Linked DNA regions of Homo sapiens: region 2 is linked to region 1. The links are contacts of gene promoters, found by promoter capture Hi-C in blood cells and fetal thymus (Javierre and others, 2016). All regions are on one chromosome and are shown on one strand. Each heading gives the region's core, a stretch centred on a gene start or on the middle of the fragment in contact. The rest is flanking DNA. Distances are from core to core; before and after follow the strand shown.

Region 1 (5,429 bases), core at 2,480-4,979:
CAAAGTGCTGGGATTACAGGCGTGGCCCACCATTCCTGGCCTCCTGTTTTTTGACATTAGGCAGGCTAACAAATCTCTGTAAGCTTCAGTGACCCCAAATGCAAAACAGCAACATCATCACCTAGTACCCACATCACAGGGATGTTATGAGGATGGAGTGGAACAACGCATAAGAAACACAGTGCAGGACAGGGCACAGAGTACGAGCTAGTCAAAGCTGGAAATCATCACTATGGAAGTTTTTGCTGGTGCTGCTGCTGGAGGAAAAAGGCCTGGATTGGCAGCTTGGAGATTTTTTTTTTTTCCCCACTAGTATGTTCCCCTGGCCAACAGTCCTATCCCTGGCCAACAGTCCTATACCTACCTTTATAAACCAAACAATTGCAAGCTCTAGAAAAGAACAACCTCTTACCTCTTCTATCAGGTTTTGTTTCAATTCCAAGCCTTTCTTGGCAGTTTTGGTTAAGGAGACTAATAAAAACAAAAAGGAGAGAGATGATGAGAGACCAATCTAAATGCACTGGAGACTTATTTTCTTCTCCCCTTTGGCAGAGAGCACTCAGCTGGATGCAGCCATTCTGAAAAAAGGCAGCAAGGCCTTTGTGGCCATCATTTCTGGCACACAAAGCCATTCCCAGGGCCCATGGAATGCCTACTCATTAGCATTCCTGGGCCTGAAGATCCCTGGATATAACTCCTGCTATTTAGACAAACTAGGCCTTTCTTAGCTCCTAAGGCTGACCCAAAAAACTTGATTGCAGTGTGGGGGTGGAGGCTGTTCCTGCTGCTAGAAGTGCTCTCAGTGGCAGACCTCACCTGCTGGCTGAGGCAGGCCCCTGTTTTTTGTTTTTTTTTTGACATGGGGTCTCACTCTGTCACCCAGGCTGGACTGCAATGGCACGATCTGGGCTCACTGCAACTTTGAGCTCCTAGGCTCAGGCAATCCTCCCACACAGGACTACAGGCACACACCACCATGGCCTGCTAATTTTGGCTGGGACCACAGAAATGCACCACCATGCCCAGGTGAGTTTTGTATTTTTTGCAGAGATGGCTTTTGCCATGTTGCCCAGGTTGGTCTCGAACTCCTGGGCTCAAGAGATCTGCCTACCTCAGTCTCCCAAAGTGTTGGAATCATAGGTGTGAGCCACCATGCCTGGCCCCTTGCTGCTCTTGACCATGATGCAGAGGCCACTCTAGCTGGCCTATGCTGTGCAACCATGAGGCTGGGGACTGAATCTCCTGGTATGTATCTGCACCCCAGTATTGCAATTTGGACCCAAAGACGCAGCAACACCTCTCTGGGGAGGAACATGTACCTCTACTGTAAAAATGGCTGGGGCCCAATTTGCCCTCTACCCACAGAGTTTGGCATTTGCCAGACCTGACCCAGGCCCCTCCACAGAATCAAATCGTTCCAGAAACACTTAACAGAACTCCAACTGCAAAGCCCCGGGCGCCTTCACAAAGGGACCCAGGCCTCTCTTCTTTAACCTGCCCGCACTCAGCCCCTCTTAACTAGGTACCACACAGACAAAGACAATGACATCAGTCAATGGTAAGTGGAGCAGAGGAGGGCAAACGAAATATAGCGGGCCACTTCCCATCATTTCCACTGTTATACCTTTGGCTCAAGCCAGCATCACCCTGTCTTGGATTAATGCTGGTCTCACTGCTTCCATTCCTGCCCTCTGCCCTGTCTTCCCCAACTATTCTCACCAAGGCAACCAGAGTGACCCTTCATAAGTAAAGGTAAATCACATGGGTCCTCTGCTACTCACTTCACCTGGGCAGGAAAGCCAATGCCTTGCCAAGGCCGAGGAAGTCCTGCCCTCTCTGCCTAACTCCCTCCCCAAACTCTATTTGGCTCCTTCTGCTCCAGCCTCACTGGCCTCTTGTCCCAAACACGTCATATCTGCTCCCATTTCAGAGCCTTTTCACTTCAGGTTCCCTCTACTTGGAACAGCATTCTCCCAGATAATTCCACAGCTGCTCAATTCCACAGGTTGCTCGCTTCCTTTCTTTATTTTCTGCTCATTTGTCACTTCATCAGTGAGACCTTTCCCGACCACACTATACAAAATATCAACATCTCTTCACCCCATTTTCAATCTGATTTTTAGCATTTTGCGGAATATGTTTCTCCTAAAACGTTAGGCTCGATAAGAAATAGGCTTTCCTTGTGACTGCTGTATCCTCTAACGCCTAGAAAGTGCCAGACCCCTAAATATTTTTGAATATTCCAGGGAGCCGGGTTAAGAGAGAGGCCACCACAGCAAAGGTGGTCAAAAACGGTCTCTTAAGAGGTGCGCAAGTCGGGTGTAGTGGCTCACGCCTGTAATCCCAGCACTCAGGGAGGGTGGTTGGAGCCCAGGTGTTCGAGACCAGCTTGGCAACACACTGAGTCTTCTCTATAAAAAATAAACAAAAAAAACCTAGCTGGGTGTGGTGGCGTGCGCCTGTAGTCTCAGCTACTCGGGAGGTTGAGGTGGGAGGATCGCTTAAGCCAAGGAGGTCAAGGCTGCAGTGACTTATTTTATTTATTTATTTTTGAGACGGAGTCTCGCTCTGTCGTGCCCAGGCTGCAGTACAGTGGAGCGATCTCGGCTCATTGCAACCTCCGCCTCCCGGATTCAAGCGATTCTCCCGCCTCAGTCTCCCAAGTAGCTGGGATTACAGGCACCTGCCACCATGCCCATCTAATTTTTAGTATTTTTAGTAGAAAAGGGGTTTCACCATATTGGCCAGGCTGGTCGGGAACTCCCGACCTCAGATGATTCGCCCGCCTCGGCCTCCCAGAGTGCTGGGATTACAGGCGTGAGCCACCGCATCCGGCCTGCAGTGTTACGATCGCGCCACTGCACTCCAGCCTGGGCAACAGAGCGAGACCCTGTCTCAGAGGGATCCTATTAACTGACAACTAAGAAGGCGCAAACCATACGAAGATGTAAGCATGCCAGGCAGAAACAACCGCAGACACACAACGCCAGACACGGGAACAAACCTGTGCTGAAAGAAGGGAAAGGCAGCCAGGGTGGCGGGAGCGCAGGAAGATGAGAAAGGGCCGAAGTTGGGAAAAGTGGGCCGAAACGGCAGCAGGCATAGCCGGGGGCGGTGTTCAGGAGCTGCCTCCCGACCCAGTTGGCCTTGCAAGAGCACCTGAAACTAGGCAAAACGAGTCTCCGCTCCCCAGACCCGACCGGGCGTCAGCCACCTCTGGCGGTTTTACAGCCCCGAAGCCCCCATTCCAGCTCGCAGCGAGGCAGCGGAACACCTCGAGGATGTCCTGGCGTTCCAATCTGCGCCCCCGCCGCCCCGAAGCCCTCACCGCAGGCTGGGTAGCCAGCCCACGGAGCTCCCCCCAGGGTCCCGACTCCCCCTTCGCCCACCTTTCTTGTCGCGCTTGGATTTGGGCATCGCGCTGAATCCACGTGCGGCGGAAGACGGTGCACCCCGTTAGGACCCCGGCGGCGCGGGGGACTCTGGGACGGCCCTCGGGGGCTGCCCCTCGCGTGTGCCTGACCCAATGTGCACTGCAGCCTGCCTCTCCCTGCCAAGCCGCCGCCTGCGCTTTCTCCCGCGCCTGTAGGGCAACTTCCCGTGTGCCGAGGCAGTCCCTGAATCCCGAGCGTCCCGTCCGACCGAGGGCCTCGCGCGCTATCCCAGCTCTGTGGTCCCGCGGAGGCGGAGCCCGCGGCGCGGTGCATGCCGGGACGGCGGTGGGTGGTGCATGCGCTCGCATCATGGCGGCTGAGTGGGCTTCTCGTTTCTGGCTTTGGGCTACGCTGCTGATTCCTGCGGCCGCGGTCTACGAAGACCAAGTGGGCAAGTTTGATTGGTGCGTACGTGTGGAACATATTCGAGAGATAAGTGGCTGTTTCCCCAGTACCTGTCTCCTACCTGCTAAAGGTTGTCACTTAACAGGATTGGCCGCATAATTTGCAGGACCCAGTACAAAATGAAAACGTGGGGCCCCTTGTTAAAAAATTATTAAGGATTTAAAGTCGTTGGAAGCAGAGCCTTAAACCAAGTGTTAGGGGTCATTCTAAGCTGATCCTTGCGTGTAAGCCGGCCCTGCCATCCAGGAATGCTTGGGGTGCCGGTCAGAGATCACTGATCCCGTCCTCCCTCGTCAGGTTCGATTTTTTTGACTGTGAGGTTTCTGGTCTACCAGGTGTCAGAGGTCGCCAAGCTGTCAGTGAACTTTAATTCCTACTCGAATTGGTGTCTTGTAGGCAAGTGAACAGGAGCTTTCGTCTTAAAAGTCCTAAACTGAGTCCTTTTCCCCTCTCATCAACCTAGTCTGGCCCTGGGCTCACAGCAGGATTGCCCAAAACACTAAGCAGCTAGAATATGCCATTCACTCATTCATTCATTCACCCACCCACGTCTTCCTTAAGGCCCTGGAGTAGCTTGCTTTTGTTTGAATTTTACTAGTTAAGACTTGTGTGATCTTGGGGAAAGTGACTTAACCACTCTGTGCCTTGGTTTCTTTGTCTGTAGAATGGGTTTACTAACAGTCCGTTATCTCTTACAGTACTTGTGAGAATGAATGAGACAATCCCATTAAATTACTTAGCACAATGCCTGGCTCATTGAATGCAGTCATTAAGCGTTATCTGTTATTATTGCTATTTACACTTTATTCTTCAGGGCCCAGGTCAGATTTCTCCTCCTCTGAAGTATTTTCTGTCTTGGAAAAGTTGATTCGCATATATGTTGAGTACCTGTTATGCCAGACAGTGTGACAAATAAAACATGTTACATTTTTAATGATGTGCACAACTGTTCACAATGTCATATGTGTATGTTACACATATATATCGGGTGATATGTGTATCTAATTTTGCAGAATACTTGATATATGCAATTTTCTTAATTTTATTTTCATGAATGAATGAATGAATGAATGGCATTTCCTAACTGCTTAGTGTCTTGGGCAGCTCTGCTCTGAGCCCAGGGCCAGGTTAGGCTGATGAGGGGGGAAAAGGACTCTGTTTAAGACTTTTTTTTTTTTTTTTTTTTTTTTTTTTTGAGACAGTTTTGCTCTTGTTGCCCAGGCTGGAGTGTAATGGCGCGATCTCATGGCTCACCACAACCTCCGCCTCTGGGGTTCAAGCGATTCTCCTGCCTCAGCCTCCCGAGTAGCTGGGATTACAGGCATGCGCCACCACACCCAGCTAATTTTTGTATTTTTGGTAGAGACAGGGTTTCTCCATGTTGGTCAGGCTGGTCTCAAACTCCCGATCTCAGGTAATCCACCCGCCTAGGCCTCCCAAAGTGTTGGAATTACAGGTGGGAGCCACTGCGCCCAGCCAAGACTTTTTAAAATTTTTTGAGACAGGGACTCATTCTGTAGCCCAGGCTGGAGTACAGTACTATCATGGCTCACTGCAGCTTTGACCTTGCAGGTTCAAGTGACCCTCCCA
Region 2 (5,674 bases), core at 3,175-5,674, 560 kb before region 1:
GATCTTCCTCAACTGGACTGGCTCCGGCTCCCCAGCCTGCAGCTAGGCTTGAAATTTCACCCCAACATGAGACTGTGTTTCTCACGATGGAGTGCGTATGACCCCAGGGCTGTGAGAAGCCATAAGATGGAAGAAACTGCATTTCAAATGAAAAAAGAAAAAAAAGCTTTACTCAAGATTAATGAGTTCATATTTGTACAGCAATTAAAACAAACAAATATGTTTTATTTGGAGATTTGGAAGGATTCGTGCATGCTTCGGGATTCTAATGTTGCAGTAAGCACAAATAGAACATGGAGAAGAATGTGAAACCTAGATGAATTTAACATTTTAAGTCTCCGGAGACACTTTTGAATTCCCCTGGGGTAGATCTGCTTCAGGCTCCACCTCAGACTCTGCCCATATTCACTCCTCTTCAAGAAGCATTGGCCGAATCAGTCACCAAAGTGTCTTATCTCATGTCCCTGGAAGAGATCAATTTCACCTAGGTCAGTTACAACCCAAAGTACATAAATTACTAAGCCTCCTGTGAGCAGGTTGTAGTCAGGGGTGGAGGGCTTAAATAATCCATAATTTCCTCAAGTGTTAACGTCTCCATTTTGTTTTATTTTATTTTATTTACTTTTTTTTAAATACAGAGTGTCACTCTGTCACCCAGGCTGGAGTGCAGTGGCACGATCTTGGCTCACGCAACTGCGACCTCCCAGGCTCAAGCTATCCTCCTGCCTCGGCCTCCCAAGTAGCTGGGGCTACAGGTATGCACCACCAGGCCCAGCTATTTTTTGTATTTTTAGTAGAGATAGGGTTGCACCTCATTGCCCAGGCCGGTCTCGAACTCCTGAGCTCAAGCGATCCACCCACCTCTGCTTCCCAAAGTGCTGGGATTACAGGCTTGAGTCACTGTGCCCGGCCTCCATTTTATCAAATTTTAAAACTGAACTGCAGTGAAGTTAAAATTCTTGCCCAAGGTCACATAGCTGGTAAAGTGACAGGAGCCAGATTTCCAGCTATAGTCAGTGCTGGTGATAGTTAAGGCAAGGCACTTTTGAGAAACAAAGTTGTTCCTAAGCCAAGATGGTAGGAGGAGGACAACAGGAAGGAATGCTCTGTTAACAGTGGTCATTTCTCAGGGGTTGCAGTAAGATGAACTTTCACATTCTACTTTATTTCTGTAATACTTGGGTTGTTCCAGCCAATATGTTTTCTTAACGGTGGTTGCCCAATGATGTTAAAAGGTTATTTTTTAGGCTCTAACCCCAAATAACTTCCCTTGGTCTGATTTCAACCTCACTCAGCTACCTTCTGACAATTTGATTTCCCATTAAGCTGGCTAGAGAGAGAGGCACTGGCCGGCTGGGTGAAGCGGCTCATGCCTGTAATCCTAGCATTTTGGGAGGCTGAGGCAGGTGAATCACCTGAGGTCAGGAGTTTGAGACCGATCTGGCCAACATAGTGAAAGCCCATCTCCACTAAAAATACAATATTAGCCGGGTGTGGTGGCACACGCCTGTAGTCCCAGCTACTCAGGAGGCTGAGACAAGAGAATCGCTTGAGCCCGGGAGGCAGAGGTCGCACTCCAGCCTGGGCAAGACAGAGCGAGACTCTATCTCAAAAAAAAGTGAGAGGGACACTGGCCAAGCCAACATCACTGTGTGGCCCACCTGATTTTCTATTCTTATTATAAATGAATGTGGCTCAACACATTTTTCTCCTCTCATCCCTAATCCATCCTAGGGTCTCACAAACAGAAAATAACATTATGCAATGCAAGTCCAAGCAGAGAAAACACAGAATCTCTTCTAGCATGGTAACACACAGGCATTCGGTCACTCTTGTCCGTGTACAAAGTCTGGTTGTCTCATCAATGCCTGACCCTTTGTCAGAGAGCAAGTAAAGGCTTCTTTTCTTCATCCATTGCTGTGTTACATAGAGGTCTTTCACTTGCAAGGGACAGAAGTTCAATTTGAACTGACTTAAGAATAAAAATCAGGGTAGATTTTATAGGTTAATATCCTTGAAAAAATCCAATGCTAGGTGTCCTGCTTCAGGTGTTCAAATAACATCATCAGGCCTTTGTCTGATTCTTTTCTCATTTTTCTTTTGTGCTGACCTTACTCTTGAGCAGGTTCTCTGCACACTGTGGTCCTGGCAGCCCCAGGGTTCCATCCTCTAACTTAGAAACCCAGCACAAAGAGAAACTTCTCAAGGGCTCCAACAGAAGTCTCAGAATTGAATCTCATTGGCTTGGCTTCGATTATATGCCTACGCTCAAACCAATGGCTGCAGCTAGCAGAGCAGAGCATGCTAACTGGCCTGTCCTGAATTGTATCAGGGCCCCACTTCCAGAGAGCTGGAGCCAGACATCACCCTCTCCGTGAGCACAGAATGACGGTGGGAAGCAGTGGTTGCCCAAAGTGAAAACAGAGAACTGTTACCCAAAAAAGGGGAAAGAATGCTAGGCATGGGGGAAAAAACATGCCTAGATCCAAGGCCACCTTCAGCTTGATCTGGGGGAAAACGTGATATAGATGTGTATCTATACCTTAGTATCTGAGACAGGTCTCAGTTAATTTAGAAAGTTTATTTTGCCAAGGTTGAGGACACATGTCCGTGACACAGCCTCAGGAGGTCCTGATGACATGTGCCCAAGGTGGACAGAGCACAGCTTGGTTTTATACGTTTTAGAGGGACATGAGACATCAATCAACATATGTAAAATGAACATTGGTTCCATCTGAAAAGGTGGAGCAACTTGAAGCAAAGGCAGGAAGACCTGAAGTGGGGAAGGGGCTTCCAGGTCACAGGTGGATAAGAATGGTTACATTCTTTTGAGTTTCTGATTAGCATCTCCAAAGGAGGCAATCAGATATGCATTTGTCTCAGTGAGCAGAGAGGTGACTTTGAATAGAATGGGAGGCAGGCTGGCCCTAAGCAGTTTCCAGCTTGACTTTCCCTTGTGGCTTAGTGATTTTGGGGCCCCACGATTTATTTTCCTTTCACAGAGGTAACTGATGGTCTAGCTACAGGTTGAGAAGAAATGGGATGGGATGGTGAGAGTATTGGATTTCAGAGATAGAGGGCCCAGGGGGAGTGGGGAGGTGGGAGTTACCGATCCCACAAGGGAGGGAGCCCCTTTGGGGCTGGTGACTCCAGGACACAGAGGGTGGCCTGCAGTGCCAGCTACTGGGGTAAGGGAAAGAGCTGAATCAGAGGCACAGGACTCTGTGTGGCCCTTGGCAGGTGACATGAGCACCAAAGGATCCTTCACACGGGCTTCTGAGTTCAGAGTGGCCTGAATGAAACATTTGTTTGAGGGAGTGCACATGCCACCCCGCCATTTGCCCTTGAGGGCAAAGTAAGGAAATCACGTTTTCCTAACTGCTGTGTTACTAATATCTGCCTGTCTCACATGAGTCCTCTTAGCCTACGCCACCCGGCTGGGGCCAGTTGTGTCCAAATGAACCAATGAAATTGATTCAACCAGACCTTGGACGCTGGTAGATTCCACAAGGTCCTGCTCCATGGAAGGCCCCTTGGCAGGCAGCCAGCAGCCTACCCTGACCACACCCTGCCCTTGTTTCCCAGCCTTCCCTACAAGGCTGTATCAGGGTTCCGGGAAATGGGGGCTGGGGACCCCGGGCACAGGGCTTGGCTTAGAGTAGGCCCAAATAAATGGCAGCTGTTCTTAGTACTACTGGATACGCAGCATGCCTAGCACAAAACAGGACACCTGTGATTAGGCATGTGAAGTGTGCAGCAGGGCACCGATGGGAAGTTCATACACCCGTAACTGTGAATACAACAGCTGTGGCTCTAAGGAAATGAATACAGTAGCAGGTGCCAAACACCTGTGCGCTGTATGTGGTTTTGTTTTTCTGCGTTGGGTTGGGCTTTGTCCTCCTTCCACTCACTTTTCTTACCTCTCCCCTCCTCTTTCCAAGGCCACCTGCCTGTAAATGTGCTCCAAGTGCAAACAAACTTTTTTCCACTCATCCTGACATCCAAAAGTTTGTGTCTGAGAAAGCAGTGTCCACCAATCCACCTATGTCCGACTCATAGGGCTGTCTGTTTATTGTGCAGATTTGTAGATGCCAGTGAGCCAAGATCGGGCCACTGCACTCCAACCTGAGAGAACGAGACTCCGTCTCAAAAAAAAAAAAAAAAGTTAAATAAAAAAAATTAATAAAAGGTTCAGGGACCTGGGAAGTGGGGGTGAGAGAGTTGGATTCTGCTGCCTCCTAAAGCTTGAGCCACAGTTCTGTGGGCACCCACCAGGTACCTGGCCCCAACAGGAAAGTCCTGATTCACTAGACCCTTGCCCACTTTGCCCTCCTATCAGGCAATTCAAAGTCTCCAGACCCGCAAGTTACTGATTAACCCTAGGTTTTGAGAAAATAAATAATAATAACTGAAGGGACGACGTAAGCCAAGAAACAAGCTGGGCAGCTCTGGGAGAGAGGAGTGTCAGACAGCTGTTGTCAACAGGCACCTGGCCAGAGTGAAAAGGAGGGGCAGATTCCATCCAAGTCCCAGCGGCGCCAGCTGACACTCTCTGCCAATGCCCAGGTGCTGAGCGACAGTGTCCCACCGGTCCCTGTGCCCAGAATGGCCTGCACCAAGACCCTGCAACAGTCCCAGCCCATCTCCGCAGGAGCCACCACAACCACCACCGCTGTGGCCCCTGCTGGGGGTCATTCTGGCTCCACAGAATGTGACCTGGAGTGTCTGGTGTGCCGGGAGCCCTACAGCTGTCCCCGGTTGCCCAAGCTGCTGGCCTGCCAGCATGCCTTCTGCGCCATCTGCCTGAAGCTCCTGCTGTGCGTGCAGGACAACACCTGGTCCATCACCTGCCCGCTGTGCCGCAAGGTCACCGCCGTCCCCGGGGGCCTCATCTGCAGCCTGCGCGACCATGAGGCGGTGGTGGGGCAGCTGGCCCAGCCATGCACAGAGGTATCGCTCTGTCCTCAGGGGCTGGTGGATCCTGCTGACTTGGCAGCAGGACACCCCAGCTTGGTGGGAGAGGATGGACAGGATGAAGTAAGTGCAAACCACGTGGCAGCCCGGCGCCTGGCCGCGCACCTACTCCTGCTGGCCTTGCTCATTATCCTCATCGGGCCCTTCATCTACCCGGGTGTCTTACGATGGGTGCTCACCTTCATCATCGCCCTGGCCCTGCTGATGTCCACCCTCTTCTGCTGTCTCCCCAGCACCCGGGGCAGCTGCTGGCCCTCCTCCAGGACTCTCTTCTGCAGAGAGCAGAAACACAGCCACATCTCTTCCATTGCCTGAGTGCCCTCTGATGAGGCTATCCCTGCAGCCCTTTCTGCCCTTGGGCCCCCGGACTTCCACAATGAACAGGGTAAGGGGTTACGGACTAAGACTGGCTCCTTTGGGAAATCACATGCCAGCGGGACTTGCAAGCCACAACCGAGATGGCCAGCCTGGGTCAAGAATTACACGCTTGGATGACAGGCTTGCACTTGCCCTTGGGATAGCATAGCTAAAACTGTTGGTGGCTAGGGGAGCAGACACAAACTACTTGAACATGACAAGATGGGGGAAGCTCCTGTTCCTCTTATTCCAATGTTCTTGGTTTTTCTTTATATAACTTGATGAAAGTATTGCAGTATTGATGCCATTGTAGAATAGAACTGGAATTCCATTCTTTTTGCAA

What was found. Contacts are between HindIII fragments. The CHiCAGO score rates a contact against its expected background, and 5 or more counts as called.
Region 2: the fragment with the promoter of RNF186 here is called in contact with the fragment with the promoter of EMC1 in region 1 in 1 of 17 cell types (total CD4 T cells); the score reaches 5.8 in total CD4 T cells.

What each region holds. Positions count from the first base shown.
Region 1 is chr1:19,249,824-19,255,252 of GRCh38, reverse strand. EMC1 (ER membrane protein complex subunit 1) reads left to right here and starts at 3,729. Exons shown (of 23, transcript NM_015047.3): 1 at 3,729-3,838. The coding sequence starts at 3,744. It overlaps MRTO4 (MRT4 homolog, ribosome maturation factor), which reads right to left and starts at 3,448. Exons shown (of 8, transcript NM_016183.4): 1 at 3,390-3,448; 2 at 413-471. The coding sequence starts at 3,417. RefSeq lists enhancers at 493-992, 993-1,494, 3,311-3,816 and a silencer at 1,056-1,201. The HindIII fragment of the contact is 6,293 bases long and covers 86-5,429 here.
Region 2 is chr1:19,814,033-19,819,706 of GRCh38, reverse strand. It overlaps RNF186 (ring finger protein 186), which reads left to right and starts at 4,424. Exons shown (of 1, transcript NM_019062.2): 1 at 4,424-5,674. The coding sequence starts at 4,606. The coding sequence ends at 5,289. RNF186-AS1 (RNF186 antisense RNA 1) reads right to left here and starts at 5,298. Exons shown (of 2, transcript NR_186008.1): 1 at 5,154-5,298; 2 at 205-464. RefSeq lists an enhancer at 2,432-2,963. The HindIII fragment of the contact is 1,953 bases long and covers 4,247-5,674 here.